Regions from separate parts of the Homo sapiens genome. Here all the other regions are linked to region 1. Evidence: promoter capture Hi-C in 16 types of primary human blood cells and fetal thymus (Javierre and others, 2016). All regions are on one chromosome and are shown on one strand. The core of a region is centred on a gene start or on the middle of the fragment in contact, and the rest is flanking DNA. Distances in the headings are between cores, read along the strand shown.

Region 1 (3,952 bases), core at 126-2,625:
TTCAATGATTTTATTCTTAATTAAGGAGAACAATCACATGAAGAAAATAATAAGTAAATGATAAACTATGTTGTTCTGATTTTAAGAATGACAGTTTTAAAGGGAGTGATCACTATCAGCTAGAAGGATTAAGAAAAACATAAGGAAAGAGGTGAAAAATAAAGATCCATAGATATAATGAGCCCAGATAATTGATTAGTCTGGATTCCCTGGAACAATCCCAGCTGGAAATGTTTTGTATCATTACCTTCATGGGACGCACTGGAGTTTCAAAATTTAACAGTGACTAGTATAATAATTAAGGACACAATTATTCCAAAGACTTGGAACACAAAATTACTCCAAAGACTTGGAACACAAAAGGTTATCCAATTTAAACAAAAGCAACCTTGCAGATTTTATTCCTACCTTAAAGTAGTTTGCTGAGCACTTACAGTAATGTTCCAGGCACGGCAAGGAGCGACCTGCGTTAGCCAGGCAGAATGCCCGCCTTCACTGAGCTTATTTCTTTCATGGTTTTTTTTTTTTTTTTTGAGACGGAGTCTCGCTCTCTCGCCCAGAAAATGGCGTGATCTCGGCCCACTGCAACCTCCGCCTCCGCCCCCGACCCCGGGGTTCAAGCGATTCTCCTGCCTCAGCCTCCCGAGTAGCTGGGATTGCAGGAGCCCGCCCAGCCACCCAAGCAGCTGGGATTGCAGGCGCCCGCCCCCATGCCCGGCTAATTTTTGTATTTTTTTTTTTTTTTTTAGTAGAAACGGGGTTTCACCACGCTGGCCAGGCTGGTCTCAAACTCCTGACCCCAAGTGATTCGCCCACCTCGGCCTCCCAAAGTGCTGGGATTACAGTCACCACGCCCGGCCAGTTTATTTCTTTCAAGAGACACTGGCGTTCAGACTATCTGAATCAATCCGGTAACTACGCCCACTGAACACCTACTACATGCCAGGTATTGAACTAAGCCGCCCTTCATATGCCATCTCATGTAATTATCTCAACAACCCTACCAAGTTAGCAGCAAGGTTTCCAGTTCTGCCTTCGAAGGGAACCTCCTCTCACCGGAGATCCCTATGACAGACCCTGCGAAATATTTTGCTGCATCAGAATGCTACAGGCCGTCAACTCCCTAACATGCGCAAAAGCGGGCAGCCGATTATCCAGGGTAGTGGATTATCCAGGAGAGTGGATTATCCAGAGTAGCAGGTCTGGCGCGATGCCCGCCCGGCTCAGCCCATCTCCCTAGCAACGAAACCCTTCCGCGCCGCGAGGTTGCTGAGCCCCGCCCCCTCCATTGGCGCGCCCTCGCCATCCCCCGCCCTGGCACGCGCTCTGCGCATGCGTACGCTCGCTGGCCCCGCCCCCTAGCGCCGCGGTCGGAGCCATTTCGCCGATTCCTCCATGCGAGTTGCTGTGCGTTTCTCTGTTGTCTCGGTAGAAGGCCAGAGTCACACACGGTCCTAAGAGCTGGGCACCAGGAAGCGAAGGCTGGTAAGGGAGAGACGTTCCGGCTACCATGCGGGGCGGCGGGGTCGCGGGCGGGCGCCGTGGACCATGGCTCCGCAGCCGGCTTTGTTGCGAAGCGCGGGCGGCGGCGGCGGCTGGGGGTGGGGGAAGGGACGAGCCGCCCGCGGGTCCCCGGATTGCGGGTTGCGTGCGCGCCTCGCCGCGATGCGCTTGCGCCGTCCGGGCAGCCTGTGGCCCCCTCCCCTCTCCTCCGCCCAGCGTTTCCCGCTGCTGCCTCTAGCAGGCAAAGCGCGCTTCCTCCTCTGGCCTGCGTACGCCGGGGCACCGCGGCGGCTGAGGGAAGGGGGTGCTTCGCCTGTGGTGGTTGCCGCCGGGGCGCCACTGGCCTAGGGCTCTTCATTCATTCAAGCCACGAATAACTGGCGCCGTCGTGCAGGCCTTGTGGGTAGAGGAAAAAAAATTGAAGAATGTAAAGGGAGAGCGCCTTTGGCTAGTATAGCGAGGTAAGGCGTCTCGAAGGAGGGAGGCTTTGAGCTGATAACCTCGGCCAACGCGAAGGAAAAGCAGAGCCTGCAGAAGCGGAAGGGATTAGTTATCGCTTAAGGGCAGAAACTGGGCGGGAGCTGAAAGCAGGCCATGTGACTGGAGTGTGGCGAGAAGGCCTTCAAAGGAGAATGGGTTTTAGGGTGGCAAGAGTGGAAACAAAAACCGTGTAGGACAATATTTCACTAGCCCGGGTGTGCAGTAGTGGTGGCAGGAGAGATGGGGAGAAACGAATGGATAGGGGACGTATTTTGAAGCAGAAATGCGTAGTGGTGGAAGGTAGTAGATCTGGAGTCAGGCTACGTTTTCTGGAATTCTTGCGCCTTTTTTTTTTTTTTTTTTTTTGCAAGAGTCTCGCTCTGTCGCCAGACTGGAGTGCAGTGGCGCGATGGCGGCTCACAGCAACGTCGGTCTCCCGGGTTCAAGTGATTCTCCTGCCTCAGCCTCCGGAGTAGCTGGGACTACAGGCGCGCGCCACCACGCCCAGCTAATTTTTGTATTTTTAGTAGAGACGGGGTTTCATCATGTTGGCCAGGATGGTCTCGATCTCTCGACCTCGTGATCCGCCTGCCTTGGCCTACCAAAGTGCTGGGATTACAGGCGTGAGCCTCCGCGCCCGCCCGAATTCTTGCTCTTATAATTAGGAGCTCTGTCTTCCTGAAGCAAGATATTCTTTGTCTCAGTTTCCCCTTCTCTAAAGGGATAGTGATCTTACCTGTACAAGGTTACTAAGGATTAAGTAAAATAGTTCCATTTAGATGATCTATTATGGATATTGTTTGACACACATTAAGGGTTCTACAAGGGATAGCTATGGAGAATCTTAAGGGAGTGGACGACTCTCAACTTGTGCCAGGAGTAACTTGGTGGATGTCGTACCGTTTATGGAAACCGAAATGTAGGGGTAGGGTGTTGGAACAGATTTGAGGGGAAATTTAAAATTCTGTTTTGACTGAGATGCCAAGTTAGCATGCAAATGGGTGAGTTAGTGCCACAGTTGGATGAACTTAATTTTGGACTTTAAAGAGAAACGACGGGCGGGCGCGGTGGCTGACGCCTGTAATCCAGCACTTCGGGAGGTTGAGGCGGGCCGATCAAGAGGTCAGGAGATCAAGACCATCCTGGCCAACACGGTGAAACCCCGTGTCTACTAAAAATACAAAAAATTAGCTGGGCGTGGTGGCGGGCGCCTGTTGTCCCAGCTACTCGGGAGGCTGAGGCAGGAGAATCGCTTGAACCTGGGAGGCGGAGGTTGCAGTGAGCCAAGATCTCGCCCCTGCACTCCAGCCTGAGCGACAGAACGAGACTCCGTCTCAAAAAAAAAAAGAGAGAAAAGACTAAAGTTTAAATATATGTATTTGGGCATCGATAGCATGTAGTTGGTATTGAACATTATGGGGTTGTAAGAGACTAGGGAGACAGGAGTTTGATAGTATAGTCCTTCGTATTTCATATTACTCATTCACCATGAGGGCTTGTTGTTTAATTATTCACGAGGTGGAATTTCCAGATAAACATTTTCAGCTTTCCACGGCTTTTTTGTTAATAGGACATTCCCTTCGCCAAATGGATGACCAGAGTTAGACTGTGGCCACTCAGACGTAACAAATTTATGCTAGGGGTGCAGTTTGATGACGTTAGACTTAGGTGCTAACAAAATGCATCAAACGTGAAACGTGAAGCAGACGGTTTAATGCTGGTAATGGGATTTCTTCTCACAGCAAACTAAATTCATAGCATATTTTATTTTCTCTGGTTATAAATGTGGTCTCATATCTTGCTTACAGTTTAGACTCAGCATTTAGACTGATAGGCTCCATATCTTGTGGTATTTTATAGACTTGTTGCACTTCAAGAAAACTTTAATATCCTCAAATTTTAATAAAAAGGCCTAAAGGAGAGATTTGGTATAGAACATTTAAGTTAATAGGTTACCGTCTTCAGTACT
Region 2 (3,615 bases), core at 837-3,336, 2.9 Mb before region 1:
CAAGTAGCTGGGATTACAGGCACATGACACCATGCCTGGCTAATTTTTGTATTTTTAGCAGAGGCAGCATTTCACCATGTTTGCCAGGTTGGTCCTGAACTCCTGACCTCAAATGATCCACCTTCCTTGGCCTCCCAAAGTGCTGGGATTTACAGGCATGAGCCACCATGCCCAGCAGATAGTCTTAAAACTATCTGTACCAGGGGTTAGCAAGCTACCGCTTCTGGGTGAAATTGGCCTACAATCTTTTTAATCAGCCCATGAACTAAGAAGGAATTTTTACACTGCTGAAAAAGACAAAGCATGTAACAGAGACCTTATGTGACTCACAAAGCTTAAAATATCTACTATTTAGTCCTTTATAAAAAAAGTTTGCTGACCCCTGATTTATACTGATGGCAAGAATAAAGACAACAAGGCCGGGCACGGTGGCTCACACCTGTAATCCCAGCACTTTGGGAGGCAGAGGCGGGCGGATCACGAGGTCAGGAGATTGAGACCATGGTGAAACCCCATCTCTACTAAAAATACAAAAAAGTAGCTGGGCGCAGTGGCGGGCACCTGTAGTCCCAGCTACTTGGGAGGCTGAGGCAGGAGAATGGCGTGAACCCGGAAGGCAGAGCTTGCAGTGAGCCGAGATCCCGCCACCGCACTCCAGCCTGGGCGACAGAGCGAGACTCTGTCTCAAAAAAAAAAAAAAAAGAATAAAGACGACAAATCACGCAAATGGTCATTTGTTTGTTGTCAGAGTAAATTCAGGAGTTATATACTTGCTCGAACATATATTTATTACAACACTCCATACTAGGTTGTACCCAGAGCACAAGAAGAAAGGAAACAAGCTGGGCCTGGTGGCTCATGCCTGTAATCCCAGCACTTTGGGAGGCTGAGGTGGACGGATCACCTGAGGTCAGGAGTTCAAGACTAGCCTGGCCAACATGGTGAAACCCTATCTCTACTAAAATTACAAAAAATTAGCCAATTGTGGTGGCAGGCACCTGTAATCCCAGCCACTTGGGAGGCAGGCAGGAGAATCGCTTGAACCTGGGAGGTGGAGGTTGTAGTGAGCCGAGATCGTGCCATCGCACTCCACTGTCGGCAACAAGAGCAAGACTCCATCTCAAAAAAAAAAAGAAAGGAAGGAAGCAATGACTCCTGTGTTCTATCCAGTATTCCTTTGAGAAAGCACAGTAGTCTTATTTATATTTTCATGTCTTTGTCCCCAGACAAAACACAAAGTAAGCCAAGTTTATGTTTTCTTGAGTGGCCTTTGCTCCTCACACCAAGTACCTCCCACAAATTTCTAGGAATAGCAAAATCTACAGGAGAAATGTAGATGCTTTGGCACCTGGGCTTTCAAAATAACTAGGGAATTTTATAAGTTGTAAAAGGCCGGGTTATACCTAAGGTTTGAATTCCTTAAAAACTGGCCAAGTAAAAGAAAGTAAACAAAGTGGCACAATTAATGCTTGGTTTTCACTAGAGGCGATGACTGTTAAGTGATCTATCTTAAACATAAAGACCTCGGACTTCTGAAAGTAGCTTTTCCTAATTGGTTGAGGTTACTGGAAAATATAACACCTTCTTAAACAGCATGTTTAATTATTACCATTTGTCTATATATTTGCTAAAGCCACAGCCTTTATGATTTCTTTAATAATGTTTTAATATTAAGGATTTTTTGCTCAAAATATGATTTTAATTCTCAAAGCTTCTGTATGAACATTGGGAAGAGTAATACCTTTTTTAAAAAAGTATTTTTTTAAGGCCAGGCATGGTGGCTCATGCTTGTAATCCTAGCTGTTTGGGAGGCCAAGGCAGGTGGATCGCTTGAACCCAGGAATTTAGCCTGGGCAATGTGGCGAAACCTCGTCTCTACAAAAAAATGCAACTGTTAGCTGGGTGTGGTGGCACGTGCCTATATTCCCAGTTACTTGGGAGGCTGAGTCTGGAGGATCACTTGAACCCAAGACACAGAGGTTTCAGTGAGCAGAGATTGTGCCACTGCACTCCAGCCTAGGCGACAAAAAGAGACCTTGTCTCAGAAAAAAGAGGCCGGGCACGGTGTCTCACACCTGTAATCCCAGCACTTCGGGAGGCCGAAGCAGGTGGATCACCTGAGATCAGGAGTTCAAGACCAGCCTGGCCAACATGGCGAAACCCCGTCTCTACTAAAAATACAAAAATTAGCCGGGCATGGTGGCACAAGCCTGTAGTCCCAGCTACTCGGGAAACTGAGGCAGGAGAATCACTTGAACCCGGGAGAATCACTTGAACCCGGGAGGCAGAGGTTGCAGTGAGCCGACATTGCACCACTGCACTCCAGCCTGGGTGACAGAGTGAGACTCTGTCTCAAAAAAAAAAACAAAAACAAAAAACAAAATCTAATGCTTTAACTTTCGACATGTAGCAGCCAAGTTTAAAATAGAGGTAGGTGAAAAACAAAAGAGGGAAATGAAATTAAAGCTTATGTAGTCATGGCTACTGATTCATCATCAGATCGCACTTAAATATTTATTTCCATTCTTTGCAGCTTGGGTAAAAAGGTGGAATGTTTAAAACCTTGCAGGTATCTAATTATTAAGCACTAATTTCAGACTTTTTAAGTTGCTAAGTAACGTTAATCATAGTATGAGAAATATTAGCAAAAATCTGGACTTAACATCTTTATTCTATAATCATAAAATCTATTTTATTCATGGAACAAACTTTTTTTATTTTTATTTTTTTTGAGACAGGGTCTCACTCTGTCACCCAGGCTGGAGTGCAGGAGCGTGATCTCGGCTCACTGCAACCTCCGCCTCAAAGTGCTGGGATTACAAGGCATGAGCCACCATGCCCAGCCAAACATTTTTAAACACCTTCTTTATGTCAGTGACCGACCTAAGTGCTAGGATCATAAATAGCCATTCAGGTTTTTTTTTTTTCCTACCTCTTAGATGTACGTGATGTAATGGAAGAGAAAAACAAGTTTACAAATCTTTTTTTTTTTTAAGTGCTGAAATAGTGACATATGTCTGCGGGATCCTAGACGAGAAGCACCCTACTCAGTGGAAGAGGTTGAGGCGGTTTTATGAGTTGGAAATGACATTTGGATTGAATTTTGAGGGATGAATAGCAGGCAGAATGAGGACGGAGACTTGCAAATACTACAGTTTGCTTTATAATAGACATTTTACCTTTAGAGAGCATGCAATATGAGAAATTAAAGTCTTTTATATTACAGACAATACTCTCACACTAGCCATAATTCTTTATCTGAGACGTTAAATAATGTTTAGAATGACATTCGAAATCATAGCAGGCTTGGGTTTCTTGAGCTTTGTTTACCAGAATGAAAACCTTGTTTTAAAATGTATCTGTAGCCAAGACAGTAGATAACCTGATTCAATAATGATTGATTGTCAAATCTACGGGGATTATTATTATTTAAGATCTAATTCATAGATATTATTGGATTATAAAACACAAAATAGTACTTTTTTTGTTTTTAGTGATGGGATCAAGATAGCATTGCATAACTAGTTATTCTTGTTTTGAATACTATTGATAAATATTTATTGTTAGGAACATAGAATTCTAAAAAAGGATCTTTAGTCACTAGATTAAATCCAG
Region 3 (3,946 bases), core at 233-2,732, 2.5 Mb after region 1:
ATCAAGCAGCTTGTGATCAGCTGAGTAGTACAAGGTTTGAACCTGCAAAACAGCAACAGAACACCCATGTGGCTACGGTCACCATGGCTACTCCACTAGTATGCAGATTACACAAACGCCTCAAGGTAACCTCCAGTGTGCTTCTTGAGCTTCTTGACATATTACTCTGGCAGGATCCGGAGGTAAAGAAAAATACATGTCATGGTGGTAAAAATTAAAAAACAAAAACAAAAAACCAAAATCAAATACAAAATCTTCCAATACTGGCTGAAGAGTCGTTGGCTTGATTGGCTTGAAAGAAATCTTCATTTTTTTCATAGCTTCTATCATATAACAGTAAGAAAAAAAGCACTAGTACAATATATACTCTTAAAGAATATACATATTTACAATAAAATACTGAATATAGTTTACACCTTTGCAGATAAGTGGTCTGGTTTGCATAAACATATTTCCTTCCTGTAAGCAATGTCAAGAAAAACAAAGAAAAAACAAATGCAAAAATTCAAGCAAGCTGTAGAGTCATCTCCATTGAGACAGATGCAAATACATGGCAAATGCATCTGACTTTCAAGTGGGAATCATAGAATTTAAAGATAATCTGTTAGCCCTTTTAGACCATAATGATGACAGTGTTTCTGCAGGCCTAACAGATTTGGTAAGCCCTCATAAAGGAACTCCGAAAGGTTTAAGTGGAGAGAGAAACTCAAGGTTACTCCACTGCTCCACCTGCGTGTTTTCAATTCCCACCATTTCTCCATCAATTTTATCTTGTGTATTTTTTTTAAAAGTAGCCCAAGTTAAGTGAGTGACTATATGTATGAACAACACCATTGAAAAACACACAGCTTTAAAGACAAGAATCCTGTAAAGGAGTAAACACCATTAAATCATCATCGTTCTCTGCCCACAGCGGATTTTTCTTAGGAGAACTGGGGCAGGACTGCTGCTTCTTTACGTGTCAATACACTTGAGGTTTCTTCTTGTTTCTTCAGTCTTGGGTATCCTAGTTTTGTTAATAAACCTATGGGGAGATAAATCAATGGGGAGGAACAACCATTAGAAGCTTTTACCTACTTGTCAAATTTAAAGCAAAAACCTGTGAAGAAAAATTAAGAATCTACAGAAAATTTCAGTACCACTTCCCATTTCTAAAGCAAATTACATGCTACTTTAAAGAAAGTTAACAGCACATAATAAGCAAAGAAATAAAAAAAGAAAAGCAGAAGACCAAACTGAACAGTTCATTCAGCTCACCTGGACACCCCCCCTGTTTCTCAGCTTAGGGGTACCTATAGCAAAATTTAAATTCTTTAGGGTCATGGTTATAAAATAAAAGTGAAAGGGAATCCTTCATGTTATAGCAAAATAATTTTTAAAAATGGTTGAATCCCATTTACTTTAAAACTAACCTCTTCCATCAGCTCTTCCAGACTGTCTCCATTCTCCCAGATGCTACGCTGCACCCAGTTGATTACCTTTGTATATAATTTGCCATTGCTGGGCAAGCAAACATTATCTTCAAGCATTACCTCCAACTAGAATTGGGAAAAACAATGACATGGATCAGTGTTGGGCTCCTAGTTCTCAGCTTAATTCCCAATTTCATAATAAAGTTGTCACAGATGCACAATTCATTCCATACATTTACTCTAATTTGTAAGGAACCAGGAATTTGTAAGGAACCAGGAATTTGTAAGGAATTTGATTACTGAATCAAAAACAAAGTAAACAAACTGGTAGGGAGAAACCCATTACGCTGCTAAGAATAACAATATAATTTCAATGTATTATTTCATAATCATTACTCACTTGCTTGAAACACAGACCAAGATTCCACGCCTGGAACTAGATAGTATATATCTGTTTATAGACTTTACTCCTTACCTTTAGCCTTGGAAGCTTAAGAAACTCCTCCTCTTCAGAAATTTGTAACAAATGCTCCTGAATATAAGCATCAACCTTATTCAACAAACGGGAGTCTCCCATACAACTTGCAAAATTTCGGTAAGAGATGCAGCTGGTAACATCCATTCTAGACAGTAAATAATCACCACAAACCTTGGAAAAGAAATATATGAGTGCCAACACTTACATATCTTTTATTCAACAAATATTTAATGTTCAGTGTGGTAAAGACTATGTGAAGATACAAAGAATCAAAAATCACTGTCTTAATACAACAAATGTTAATAGTGGTAATAACACGTATACAAATGATAAACATCTAATTATGCCATACAGATATGTAAGTTTTAGTTTAAGGAGAGGTACAACAAATTGAAATGCTATGTAAGTTCACATAAGTATTTTCAAGTAGAATAATTTGGTAAGGCTTCATGAAACGCAGTATCTGAACTGGGCTCTACAGGAGAGATGATGTTGATGTTGAATGCAGACAGAAGTAGAGAAGATGCTGCAAACAATTTAATTTGGTTGGAGAAAAGATAACTAGGAAATAGTTTTGGAAAGACAGCAACTATATAAGGGAAAATCTAGAAACTAAATGCAGGGATATGTACTGTAAATTAAGGAAGGATTTTTGAACAAAGGAGTGGTATTAGAAGAAGGGCTAGCAAATCAAACTTTTTCTTAAAGGGCCAGATAGTAAAAGCATTTTAGGCTTGTAGGCCATTCTGTTTGTCACAACTGCTCAATTCCGTCACTGTAGCTGGAAAGCAGTGTAGACCATATGTAAATGAACACACATGGCTGTGTTTGAATAAAACTTTATAAAAATAGGCAGCTGGCCAGTAGGCCTTAAGTTTACTGACCCCCATGCATTAGGGGATTAAATGCCTGTTTTCCAAAAGTACTTTTTACTGGCATTAAATTCTAGAAGGAATACTTTTAGAGAGCACAGGAAGTTTAGGAGAACACAGAATTGAGGATATAAGTTATGTGATTAACTCTTAAGAAAAATATTAATTTTAATTCATGCTATCAAAGGCTGACATAGCCACCCTACCAGAGAAGATTGCTGAAAGGGTCAGACTTCAGCCCAAATTATCTGAGAAGAAGTGTGATCTTGCTACATTATTATAGCCAAACAGTTAAAATAACATATTGACTACTCTGAGGGAAAAAAGGGACATGTTCAAGTCCTTGAAACTAACAAGATGTTTTATGACAAATTCAGCATTGCAATCACACAAAATAAGACTCCATAAATGATTTTATTTACTTCTGATACTCTACCTGCTTTACTCGATCCATCTTCAGCTTTTTTGCTGCAGAATAAACATCTTTTACCAATTCCTTATCTGCTTTCAACCTATTTAAAAAAAAAGTTACTTATGATACCAAAGCCTTAAAACACACTTAATTTAAATATATGTAGCAAGACTTGGAATTTTCTGAAGATATTCCCTAATTATATGGTTTACTTCAAATGTACTTACTGAGCAGTGTAGGCATAATTCAACAAGACTTCAACAGCTTCTGGATTGAGATCATCAAATTTAACGTGAGAAATTCCATGAGGATCACTATCACTATTAAAGATTTCAAATAAATAGGGACTGCAGCAAGCTAGCACTGCTCTGTGTGCTAACATTTCATGGCCACAGACCTGAAATTATGAAGAATTATAATTATAAGTATTGTGGATTATGTGCTTCTCTAGCTAATTACTATATCAGATTCCTTTATCTTACATTTCTCAGTATTCTTTTAAAAAATCATTTCATTAAATGCCTATGAAAAAGAAATAAGCAAATCTAAGAACTTATGGCTTTTAGTAATAAAAAATTCTATAAATTTTGAATTAAGTTTTAAATACCTGAAGTCGAACATCACAGAACTGGCCACTTTTCCTCAGGGCATTTAATTTGGCAACAGAAGACTCAATAAAATTTTCATCCTCAAACATCAAATATCCATTGGGAATCATTTTTCCTTATAAATTTGGCTAGATGATGAAAAGAAAGCTGAGTTATTTTACTTG
Region 4 (3,748 bases), core at 993-3,492, 2.9 Mb before region 1:
GAGACTGAGGGAGGAAAAATGATAACCTTAATATGGGAGCTGAAGGTGCTGGTGACTTCTGTATCTATGTGAAGATGGGTAACGGGTAATTGGAGATTTAGTCTAGGGCCAAGATCCAGTTATCCAAAGAGTGGTGAGAGTCAAGGCCACAGTAATCAACAAAGAATATAAAGAAAAATGCAATCTTAGTGTCTACTAAAAAGTAGGAGAAACAAGGGAGCCATATTGAATACCTATTACCGGCCTAACACTGCGGAGACGTCTGGGAAGGGCCACAAACCTTTCCACAGTAAACCTCCAATCTTGTTCCAGAGATTAATTACTCTCATGAAACTATATGCAACTAGTACAAAACTTGATAGATTCAGGGCCAATCTGTAGGGTAAACACAAGAGTAACGGGATATTAGAAAAGAAAGACATTGATGTGCTTGGGGAATTTAGGAGGCGAGGAGAAGACAGACCAACACAAGGTATAAGAAGTAGAAATTGTGCATAGGCTGATACCAGGGTAACCCTGCTCTGAGCACAGTGACAGAACTTTGGTGTCTTCTCTGTTGTCAAGGGGATAGCATGGGGCTGAAAAAGTATAAACAGGCTTTGGGGCAAAGCAGATCCCAAAGCTTACAGCTCCCTTTTATTGATGGTATAAAATTGGGCAAATTACTTAGCTTTTTCAGTACTTGTTTCTTTTTCTTTCTTTCTTTCTTTTTTTTTATTTTTTTGAGATGGAGTCTCACTCTGTTGCCCAGGCTGGAGTGCAGTGGTGCGATCCCGGCTCACTGCAACCTCCGCCTCGCAGGTTCAAGCGATACTCCTGCCTCCGCCTCCCGAGTAGCTGGGATTACAGGCACCCGCCACCACGCCCGGCTAATTTTTGTATTTTTAGTAGAGACGGGGTTTCACCATCTTGGCCAGGCTGGTCTTGTACTCCTGACCTCGTGATCCACCCGCCTCGGCCCCGCAAAGTGCTGAGATTACAGGCGTGAGCCACTGTGACCGGCCAGTACGTGTTTCTTCGTTTTAAAAAAGTGAGTATATTTAATAAGGTGGTTGTTTACATTCAGTAAAATAGCGCATGAAAAGCATCTAACACAGGGCTTTAAACAGCAAGACTGGGCAAAACCTAAATAACATTTTCCTTATGTTGTCTTTTTTGCTACCACTTGCACCATACGATTACCCACATTTCCTGTCCCCTCCAGTGCAGCTTCCTGGAGACACTTCACACGTATGCAGGACTTCTGTACATCCTACTCAGGCACAGCTGTAGGCCCTACAAAGAGGGACCATTTACTGCCTCCTGCTGTCATTGATATTCGACAAACATTTATTGAGCACCTACAATGTCCTAGTTACTGTGCTAGGCCATTTTGGGGTATAGAGAGATAAAACAGATCTTAAAGTCTTCACGACACTTAAAGATGAGAAACAGTCTCTGGGTAAATAACTATCGGAGTTCAGAAGGTGGACAGAAGTGGTGGGCGGCGAGTCTGTGTGCAGTGAGCACCTAGCGGAAGATGGCATTATTTGCAGAAGAGAGGTCCTTTAAGCCAAGTCTTGATAGATGATTTCACCACGCGGAGATTGGGAAACGAGGACAAAGATATGAGAAGATATGTTGGCCACAGAGAGCCTCTCAAAGCACTGTTAAAGCAAAGCCAATACTTAATGGGAGGAAACTCCGTTTTACTTGCGTGGAGTCTTAAGTCATTAGATGCATGCTAAACAGAACTGTAACCCTCGCGAATAAAACGGCCACAGTGACAGCAGTGGGTAACGGCAGAGCTGCAACTACTCTGACAGGGGTGACGACTTATTTGGACGACAGTTGGTGAAACATTGTAAACTCTCAGAAGCTGCCGTTTCCAGACTTTGAGTTCATTCTTGTCGAATCCCCAGCTTGTTTTCTCAGCCCGGGGTGAAATGCGCAGCCAAAAGGCCCAATGAGCGTCAAAGCGAAAGGGCAGGGGTGGTCTCTTCTGCGGATATACCTTGGCTCCTCCCAAGTCCTACGAGTTTAAACTTCGACGCACCAAACATGGCTTCTTCGCGGTTCTGCTCCTTGTTTTATTTCGCTCCCACCTTTCGGCCACACTCAACATGGCCCTAACCGAAGGTTGGCATGCCTGTGGCACTGTCTCGGGACAGTTCTCGCGAGGTTTGCCTGGGCCCGACTGCTCCCGCCCTGCCTCGCGCCGCCGCCACAGCCGCTGCCGCTGGCGCCGCTCCTCCTCCGTGTCAGTTGTTGGGCTGTAATGGCGACTGGGCCGCCCCTGACGAAGTGACTCCCGGGCCGGGGAGCGGGGCCAGACCTGCGCCAGAGAGAACTGCAGGGAGCCGCAGCTCGGGGGGTGGCTTGCCCTGAGGGAGGGGAGGCAGCCTTTCCGCCTTGTCTTCCTTCCCAGCGGACCGGCGGATCCCCGGAGCCGGTGCGAGGAGGGCACCCGGTGCGTCCCCGGAGCGGGGAGGCCAGGCCGGGCAGCCCTGGGGCCGGTCGGGGCGGCGTCACTGCACCCTCCGCCAGGCTCCGCGGGATGCACCGTGGTAGCCGAGGGCGGAGGCGACACTCTCAGGTGAGCTCCTGTAGGACCTGGCTGGGACCGCGGAGTCTCGCTCAGCCTCAACTGTCTCTGTCCGCGGTCCCGGGTCCCCGGTGGCGGCAAGAGAGGCGGGGCCGGGCGCGGAGAGTCTTGGCCCTGCTTGGCGTCCCCCTCGGGGAACCTCCCTGGGTTCTGAGGCTTTTCGGGGACCTAGGTTTCGGGTCCCACCAGTGCCTGCTGAAGACGGAATTTCCTTCCTTACGTGCCAGTGTCCTCCCGCCTCCTCCACCCCTCCTCTAGCCTGCAGAGGTAAGATACCTCTAGCCTTTGCTGCCCGGAGAAGTGTCCCTTCTTCATCTGGCGATCAGGCGTATTTGGGGAGATTCCGGGGACTGGCTCCAGTGGCAGGGATGATCAGTTTCTGTTCCTTTTCAGTGGGGATCACATTCTCAAGTATAGGGAAAACTTTGATCTACTCTAGTCTAGCGGCTGCTGAAGGTAGTTTATTCACAGATAATTTGGGGAAAGATTTAAAAGGCTTTATGTTTTGGAAGTTGTCAGTATTTTCCTCTGCCTTTTAAATGCAGCTCAACATGCTAAGTAATATTTAGCTAATGTCACAAGATATGAATTGGAATTTGCCTGGATTTTAAATATTCAGATAGAAAGTTGCACATAGGCATAGATTTTAATGTTTTAATGCAGTAGCAAATCCTTCATATGGGAAAAAACAGGTTGTCAGAAATAGTGATCAATATCCATGTACTCCACCTGATTGTTTTGTTTTGATGGTGATCCTTGTTTTGAATTTGGGGAAGTCGTTATTGTTGCCATGTTAACGATACCTCCTGCCCTGTATTTGAAGAGTTTTAAAAGAAAGACTATCTTTGGCAGAGCTAGTAACAATCTGAAAAGTTCTGTAGAAACAATGATAAAATACTAAAAGTTGCCCTCCATTCTGAAAATTTCTTCGTTTAATATATTGTTTTTAAACAAGGAAATGCACTGCTAATGACATGGAATTGTGACTTTGAGGGATTGTTAGACCCATGCTGGAAGTTGCTTCAAAGCCATGGGCGTATAATAATTAGTTTCGGTGTGCTAAATTGACAAATTTTATTTAATGTAATGAAATAAATCTGAATCATTTGAACTGTCAGTGCATTAAATTTAAGATACTGTAATCTGAAAATAAACTTCAAGCTA
Region 5 (3,600 bases), core at 157-2,656, 2.3 Mb before region 1:
CTTTACTGTAAAAGAAGGGCATTATTTCCTCTGGTGTTCATAGCTCTAAAATTTTTAGATTGTATCAAACAGAAAGGAAGACATACTCAACGAAAACATAAATCAAAGATATTTAGGATTTTATAAAAATCACAATAAAAGTTGTAATACTGCATTTTGCATTGCATCACATTATTATTATTATTATTATTTGAGGTGGAGTTTCTTCGCTCTTGTTGCCCAGGCTGGAGTGCAATGGCGCACAATCTTCGCTCACCGCAACCTCCGCCTCCTCAGCCTCCCGAGTAGCTGGGATTACAGGCATGCGCCACCACGCTCGGCTAACTTAGTAGAGACGGGGTTTCTCCATGTTGGTCAGGCTGGTCTCCAACTCCCGACCTCAGGTGATCCTCCCGCCTCGGCCTCCCAAAGTGCTGGGATTACAGCCGTGAGCAACCACGCCCAGCCCTGCATCACATTATTACAATCCTATTATCTTTTTGGATCTCTATATAGTTTTATTAACTTTACCGTATTTACTTCCATGTGGCCCTCTGGGAAAGAGTAAATGAATGATATATCTTATTTTATCCTCATTTTGTAAAGGTTCTTGGGCTGGTAAAATGCAAGATCACTGAATAAGTCAGAGAAAAAAACACAAAAACAATGTCCAGTGTCCAGCTAAATAAACATCACTCCTAAGAAAGCAAACATCTTTTCCACGTTCAGGATGATGCTCATCCCCAGCAGATGGTCAAAAAAAAAAAAACAAAACAAAATACACATACACAAGCTTCATTACACCTAGCTATTAACCATACATGCTTGCTATCAGTTGTTGAGGAAGAAGGCTCCGTGTCTTTCTCCCCCATCCACCCTCTCCCTGCTACTTTACCTGTTTGTACCTGGCATACAGGTACAAGAGCTGCTCCCTGCTGGCCACCTGAATCAGGCCTTGCAGGTGCGCGGCAGCCTTCTCAAACAGCTCGGCCAGGCAACTGGTCTCCTCGATCTCAGGGCTATGGGGGAACTCCACCTCCCCGGAGTCGTCCCCTGAGCTCAGCTCTCCACCGCTGTCGCCGGTGATGGCCCCCGCGGGCAGGAATGATGAAGCCATGTCTCCTTGCTCGCTCCGTCCCTCTGTGTCCGGTCTGTCCTCCTTGGATTGGGTGTAAGGCCGGCTTGGAGGCCTGGCCCACCAGTCTGGGTCGCGAGCCTGAGCTCCAGTCGGACCCAAGCTCAGTCGCGGCGCGCTCCCTCACGTGACCCTGCTCCCTGCCCACTTCTACTCCCTGGGCGTGCAGAGCAGGCTCCTCGACCCTCTGCCGCTCTGCCCAGTCGACCCGGTCTCCTCCGGCTTCCCTCCGGCCAACAGCGCGCTCAGGCTCGCCTCAGGCCCCTCCAACGGAACAGGAGTCGAGGGGCAGTGAGGCCGGGATGCGTGCGAGCGCGGGGCGCGGCTGGCGCTGGGCCGTGGGGGCGGGGCGGCGTGCGTGCCAGCGGCGTGCGATTCTGTGAGGCCTGCTCTGCGCCGGCGGGGAAGCGCGGGCGACGCTACGCTGGACGTCCTTCCCTGCCGGAGGAGAGAAAGTGCCGTCAGCTGTAGGGGCGTCTTTTAATCGTTTCGCTGAAATTAGCAGTCCCGAGCTCCGGAGCCCGCCACCGGGATGGGCCCCCGGGGGTGGGGGAAGGAGGCCGTTTGTGTGGTAGTGTAGCGGTGAGAGCGGAGTCGCGGGAAACGCGAGGCTGAGGACTAAGGTTCCGCCTGCCCCAGATTGTGCGCCCCAAGCGCCTCCAAACAGCCCTGCGCGCGGATCTGTTGCGTGCGCGTTGGGCTCTGTGTTGAATAATGAAAAACTGCGAGATGGGGCTGTCCCGTCTTACTGTGTGACTGATGAGTGGAATCACTGCTCTGCGTGTTTCGCTCTCCACACCTTCGGAGCCCGCACCTCTCCGGGCCCTGAATAATAGGGTTTGGGGAGTTCGGGGCGCGCCTTAGCCCAGTTCTCATCCCGAGCTCTGTCTTTGACACTGTGCTTTGTAGACACTGTACAGTGAAACCAGAAGTACGGCACAGTTCGGCCCTAGAGGAATGCACAAAACTATTTTTTTAACTGTAACATTATGAGTGGTTATGTCCTAAATGTTAAACACAACGACGCACTATATATTCATTTAGTATTCAAAACAATGTAATAAGCACTATAAGAAGGGTACAAAGAAAGTGTTGTAAACAGTGGTTATTGACTGGGGTTAGGCTTGCGACGGGTGGACGGACGGCTGGACAGGATGAGGAAGCAATGAGAGAACACAGGAAGGTGAGAAAGCTTGCATCAGGATTCAACAGACATTCCTTAAGTCTCCAGAAAGTTCCACTGTTAGTCCCTGCTGTCAAGGTGCTCGCAATCCAGTCAAAGGGATGTTTAATGACCAAATTCTTGCAATTAAAAAGTGATTAAGAATAATGTATTGAGGACTTGATCATTACAACATAAGGTAGGTACTCTTATTTTACTACACATAGGAAATCAGCACAGAGTGGTTAAGTAACTTGTCAAAGGCTACACAGCTAGCAAATGGAGGAGCAAGGAAAAAGAAGTTAGCTTTCATGTGGGGTAATAATGGATGATGAACCCGACAAGTAGACTGAAGGAGATATAACATGGACTTTTATATCTTTGTTTCTAGAATTTTTATTAAAGTGAGAATTGAATATTATCAACGGCTTTTTTGGCATCTTTGGAGATTATCTGCTTTTCTCCTCTAGTCTTCGAAAGGAATTATATTAACAGTTTCTATTTTAATGAATTATATTAACAAAAATAAATTTGGGATTTAATGAATTATATAATAGCTAACATTGATAAATTAGTATGCATTATTTCAAAACCTCCTAGTTTTGAGCATTACTTCTGTTCTTGGAATAAACCCATTCTGGTCCTGGTTTGGTTTTTTTAAAAAATTTGTAGGTTCAGTTTGCTAATATTTTCATTATCTTTACAGTTCCATTTAAAGATGTCATTAACCTATAGTTTTCCTTTTCTATACTTTCTCAATTTTGTATCAAGGTAATAGAATCCTTGTAGAATGCATTTAGAAGTTTTCATCTTTTTCTGTATTCTGGAAGAGTTTACATAACATGGGAAAGAGAGCAACCAGAATTCTTTTACACTGCTGGTGTGAGCATAAATTGGTACAATCACTGTGGAAAAATGTTTGGCACTATCTACTAAAGCTGAACATAAATATACAACAATTCGACTCCTCCCCAGCGGGAATATATACATGGCATTCACCAAAAACATGTACGAGAACATTCATAGCAGCACTATGAACTAATTCCTAATTGCTCCAAACTGGAAGCTCCTGAATGTCCATCAACACTAGAATGGAGATAAACTGGTGTGCTTACATGATGGAATACTATTCATCAGTGAGAATGAACTAATTACAATGACACAGAATAACATGAATGAATCTCAAACATAATGTTGAGTATAAGCCTATACTCAAAAAAGTGCATATTACATGTTTCTAGTCATAAAAAATTCAAAATCAGGCAAAACTAATCTGTGGTGTTAGACTCAGGATAGTGGGTAACCTCAGGGTTAGTGATCTGAA
Region 6 (3,698 bases), core at 422-2,921, 3.0 Mb before region 1:
TTCCTTCAGGAAATTCAAGTGGCACTTCAAAGAAGTGTGGACTTTCCTGGAATAGAATTTTGACTTCTGTGTTCCATGGAAATGAATGGAATACAGAAATTACTTCTTAGGCAAAAATAAGTTATATACAAGATACAATACATTATTAAAACACCCAATAATCCTCAAATAATTAGCTACATTCTGAAGTTAATTTATTTATAAATTATTGAAGCTCTCAAGCTAGCATTACCTCTACATTAGGAAAGAAACTAGATAAAATAGTTCTTAAATGAGTCACGCAAGGTTGCGTAACAAACCAGCAGAAAAACAGGTAATCAAGTTGTGGACTGCACGTTCAGCATAATAAACATTACTGAAGACAGGCACTCAGTTTTCATAACAAATGTTAGTTTTTCAAACTATTCTAATCCACACAAAGTCTTCCAAAAACATCTGTAGTTACTCTACCATGAAGTTCCTTTTTTTATTAAATGTTTCCACTGGCCTTTTATATCCTCATCTTGTGCTCAAAAAAAAAAGCTCAAAAAACATGGATAACTGCCACAGCTTAAAACAAAGAAAGGATCTCTCATACAGATCCAAAATAAAATGTGTTAAAACCTAAAGACAGGTAAAACAAAGCCAGTATGTTTAATCTATGTAACTCATTTCTGGATCTGTGTAACAGTATAAAGTCTGATAATTAAGCATTACTCATAAAGTAGAGAGTACTATGAAATTTGTTAAAAGAAGGAAAAGGCACAAACTTTTTCATCAGGTATTAAATACAATTGGGAGAATGGTACATATATAATATGTAAGCAAAATGGTAGGAGGTCTTACTAAAACTTCAACTTTGCCCTTTTTAGCACCAATTTTTTTTTTTTTTAAGTATTATCTTTTCAGGATTAAGATTATGAATGTCGAGAACCTAGGCATGTTGGGAATGGAGTAATCGCCGCCTACACTAGTAGGCAAATTTCCCACTCACATTTCGAACCCTAAAATAATTCGGCTTCTCACCTTAAAGTCTAAACCCAAAAATTTACTCACATCTTAACCCATTTAATATTTATAAGATTCAGTTTCTTTTTATCCCAAAACAAAAATATACCCCCAACCTACCTCGTTTACTGTTTGAGTGAGGCCAGGCGTGGTGGCTCACGCCTGTAATCCCAGCACTTTGGGAGGCTGAGGTGGGAGAATCGCTTGAAGCCAGGAGTTCGAGACCAACCTGGGCAATACAGTGAGACCCTGTCGCTATAAAAATAAAAAATAAAGTAATTAGTAGGGCATGGTGGTGCGGGCCTGTAGTTCCAGCTACTTGGGAGGCTGAGGCGGGAGGATCCCTTGAGCCCAGAAGTATGAGGCTGTGGTGAGCTATGATCACGCCACTGTACTCTAGCCTCGGTGACAGGGCAAGTACCTGTCTCAAAAACAATAAAAATAAAAATACCATTTGTGCGGTACGAAGGTGGGGGTGGGGAGGGACCGTTTCTGAAAGTCCTTTTCAAAAATTCAAGATATCAGTTTCAATACTAAAACATGGAAAAGCTGCATAGTCATTTTGTTTACTTACAAATTCTGGCGAAGTTTTAAATCGTAAAACTGTTAGTATCAGGAGAGCCCTTCGAGTATTCTCTCCGCTCCACACCGCTCGGCTGCACCCAGCGGCCGCCGCGGCCCGAATGTCGTCCAGGGTCCCCGCCCATATGACAAACACTTTCCGCCGGAAGGCGCCCGTGGAATCCTGGGACTAGTAGTCTCCGTGCCCTGCCTTCTGCCTTCTCCATCCTTCACCCTCTACTGCCAGGTCGTCTGACCCAGCGACAGGCGCGGTAAATGCGCGACCAAACCGCAGAGGTCCCATGCAATCTCATGCTGACAGGATTACAGGCATCTCTGTAAGACGTCGACCACCCTGACCTGAAATTCATAGACTGAAGAAACTCATAGGACCAACACAGTGAGCAGCAGTACCAAATGATAATGGCAAGCACCATGTCCTGGAACACACCCTCTGTGCCATTAAGAGGAGCATGTAATCCAATGAGTTGCCTAATCTAAACCTCAGTTTGCTCGTGTGTCAAATGGGGACAACGTTACTTACCTCATAAGTTTGTTATTAGTAGATTAGATGACGTATGCAGCATTTCTGTTAAATGACAGTAGTGACAAAAAATAGCTGTTTTGATCTACTAATTTTATAAATGTGAAAATTAAGAGATGGCGAGCAATTTACCCAAGAACATACAATTTGTTGGGGGAAAAATGAAGTAAGTCTAAAATTCCTGTTCTTGACCTACAGCAATTCAGGACAAATCTAACCAAATTTCAAGAAGAAATCTATTCATGTAAAACTCCCTTCCCCTTTCCTCTTTTTTTTCCCATAACAGTCCTGACCAACACACTATTTTACTTATTTTGATTTTTGCCCGACTCCTCCCATAGAATATAATCTCCAAGAAGGCAGGAAACATTTTTTGTCTTTTAGTCTATTTTGTTCACTGCTGTATCCCCAGCACAGAGAACAGGGACTGCCTACTACACAGTAGCTCAAGTATTTATTGAATTAATAATTCCTCATTTAATGTGATTTTTGGTGCCTTCACTTCTCAATCACCCTCTCTTGGCAGAAGTGACAGGATTTGGTAACACTCTTGGATGGTGTTTAATAATTAACTGCAAGTCCTAATTCAACAAAAAGAATACTATATTCCATTCACTTTATTGTGTTTAATTAATTTCAGTATAACATTTCCAGGAATTTTCATTTGTATTGTCATTAAAATATTTTTCTATCATTTGTAAGACTGGGGAATAAATGGAGCCAGCTACTATGTCTTTAATTAACTTCCTCCTGTTTAATATTTTAATCATCTTTTCCTTATTAAAATTGTTTGCCTACTTCATTTGTACTACTAAGTCACAACGGATAGATTTATCTCTTTAAATAAATGAACTTCTGCTTACCCTAAAGCAAAAAGTTCCTGTACAAAAAATTTATTGTTCTAAAATGTTTCATTTAAAATAATTATTTTGGCCAGGCGTGGTGGCTCACACCTGTAATCCCAGCACTTTGGAAGGCCAAGGCGGATGGATCACCTGAGGTCAGGAGTTCAAGACCAGCCTTGCCAACATGGCAAAATCCATGTCTACTAAAAATACAAAAATTAGCTGGGCATGGTGGCAGGCACCTGTAATCCCAGCTACTCGGGAGGCTGAGGCAGGAGGATCACTTGAACCTGGAGTTGGGGGAGGCTGCAGTAAGCCGAGATTGCACCACTGCACTCCAGCCTAGGCGAAAGAGCGAGACTCCGTCTCTAAATAAATAAATTAATTAAAAATGAAATAAAATAACTGATTTAGGAACCCAGTCTCAAGAGCACAGGATTTCCAGACCTAGCCCTAATAGTTAAGTGTGTGAATTAATGCCATTTAATCTGAATTGTAATTTTTCGTGTTTCTGTCGTTCCCAATAAATGACAAATTCCCTAAAGATAGTCTTCCTCATTGCTGGCACACGTTTGATAAGTAAATGAATTATTAAGTGTATTCTTTGTTTTAATCATTTCTTTTCTTACCGGTCTTCTTTTTTGGGTCACTGAATTCCTCCAGATTTCTCAAATTCCCAAAGTAACTTTAATATCCAGAGCTGAGGCATCCTTTTTTAGTGGCCCAGCGCATCCCTTATAATATTGGCTATGACTCTACTG

What was found. The method cuts DNA at HindIII sites, captures the fragments that hold promoters and counts their contacts. A CHiCAGO score of 5 or more calls a contact.
Region 2: a fragment that was not itself captured here is called in contact with the fragment with the promoter of DHX9 in region 1 in 1 of 17 cell types (fetal thymus); the score reaches 5.1 in fetal thymus.
Region 3: a contact is called between a fragment that was not itself captured here and the fragment with the promoter of DHX9 in region 1, in 1 of 17 cell types (fetal thymus). The highest score is 5.6, in fetal thymus.
Region 4: a contact is called between the fragment with the promoter of CEP350 here and the fragment with the promoter of DHX9 in region 1, in 6 of 17 cell types (naive CD8 T cells, total CD4 T cells, fetal thymus and 3 more). The highest score is 14.5, in naive CD8 T cells.
Region 5: the fragment with the promoter of ACBD6 here is called in contact with the fragment with the promoter of DHX9 in region 1 in 3 of 17 cell types (naive CD8 T cells, total CD8 T cells and naive CD4 T cells); the score reaches 7.1 in naive CD8 T cells.
Region 6: a contact is called between the fragment with the promoter of TOR1AIP2 here and the fragment with the promoter of DHX9 in region 1, in 1 of 17 cell types (total CD8 T cells). The highest score is 6.3, in total CD8 T cells.

The regions. Positions count from the first base shown.
Region 1 is chr1:182,837,972-182,841,923 of GRCh38, forward strand. It overlaps DHX9 (DExH-box helicase 9), which reads left to right and starts at 1,376. Exons shown (of 28, transcript NM_001357.5): 1 at 1,376-1,485. It overlaps DHX9-AS1 (DHX9 antisense RNA 1), which reads right to left and starts at 1,620. Exons shown (of 2, transcript NR_148933.1): 1 at 1,341-1,620. RefSeq lists an enhancer at 1,001-1,842 and a silencer at 1,266-1,695. The HindIII fragment of the contact is 6,331 bases long and covers 1-3,952 here.
Region 2 is chr1:179,893,565-179,897,179 of GRCh38, forward strand. The region is part of intron 3 of TOR1AIP1 (torsin 1A interacting protein 1); the gene reads left to right. Among named protein-coding and RNA genes, the nearest start is that of TOR1AIP1, 13 kb to the left of the region's middle. The HindIII fragment of the contact is 755 bases long and covers 1,710-2,464 here.
Region 3 is chr1:185,305,602-185,309,547 of GRCh38, forward strand. It overlaps IVNS1ABP (influenza virus NS1A binding protein), which reads right to left. Exons shown (of 15, transcript NM_006469.5): 3 at 3,782-3,910; 4 at 3,402-3,571; 5 at 3,199-3,274; 6 at 1,888-2,061; 7 at 1,413-1,538; 8 at 1-42. The coding sequence starts at 3,892. Among named protein-coding and RNA genes, the nearest start is that of IVNS1ABP, 9.7 kb to the right of the region's middle. The HindIII fragment of the contact is 836 bases long and covers 1,065-1,900 here.
Region 4 is chr1:179,952,568-179,956,315 of GRCh38, forward strand. CEP350 (centrosomal protein 350) reads left to right here and starts at 2,243. Exons shown (of 38, transcript NM_014810.5): 1 at 2,243-2,575. RefSeq lists an enhancer at 1,939-2,440 and a silencer at 2,228-2,677. The HindIII fragment of the contact is 10,111 bases long and covers 621-3,748 here.
Region 5 is chr1:180,501,171-180,504,770 of GRCh38, forward strand. ACBD6 (acyl-CoA binding domain containing 6) reads right to left here and starts at 1,407. Exons shown (of 8, transcript NM_032360.4): 1 at 875-1,407. The coding sequence starts at 1,096. RefSeq lists enhancers at 1-329, 330-845, 953-1,453, 975-1,164 and a silencer at 1,375-1,474. The HindIII fragment of the contact is 1,534 bases long and covers 771-2,304 here.
Region 6 is chr1:179,876,132-179,879,829 of GRCh38, forward strand. It overlaps TOR1AIP2 (torsin 1A interacting protein 2), which reads right to left and starts at 1,672. Exons shown (of 7, transcript NM_001199260.2): 1 at 1,562-1,672; 2 at 1,108-1,242. RefSeq lists an enhancer at 1,647-2,006. The HindIII fragment of the contact is 9,006 bases long and covers 1-3,698 here.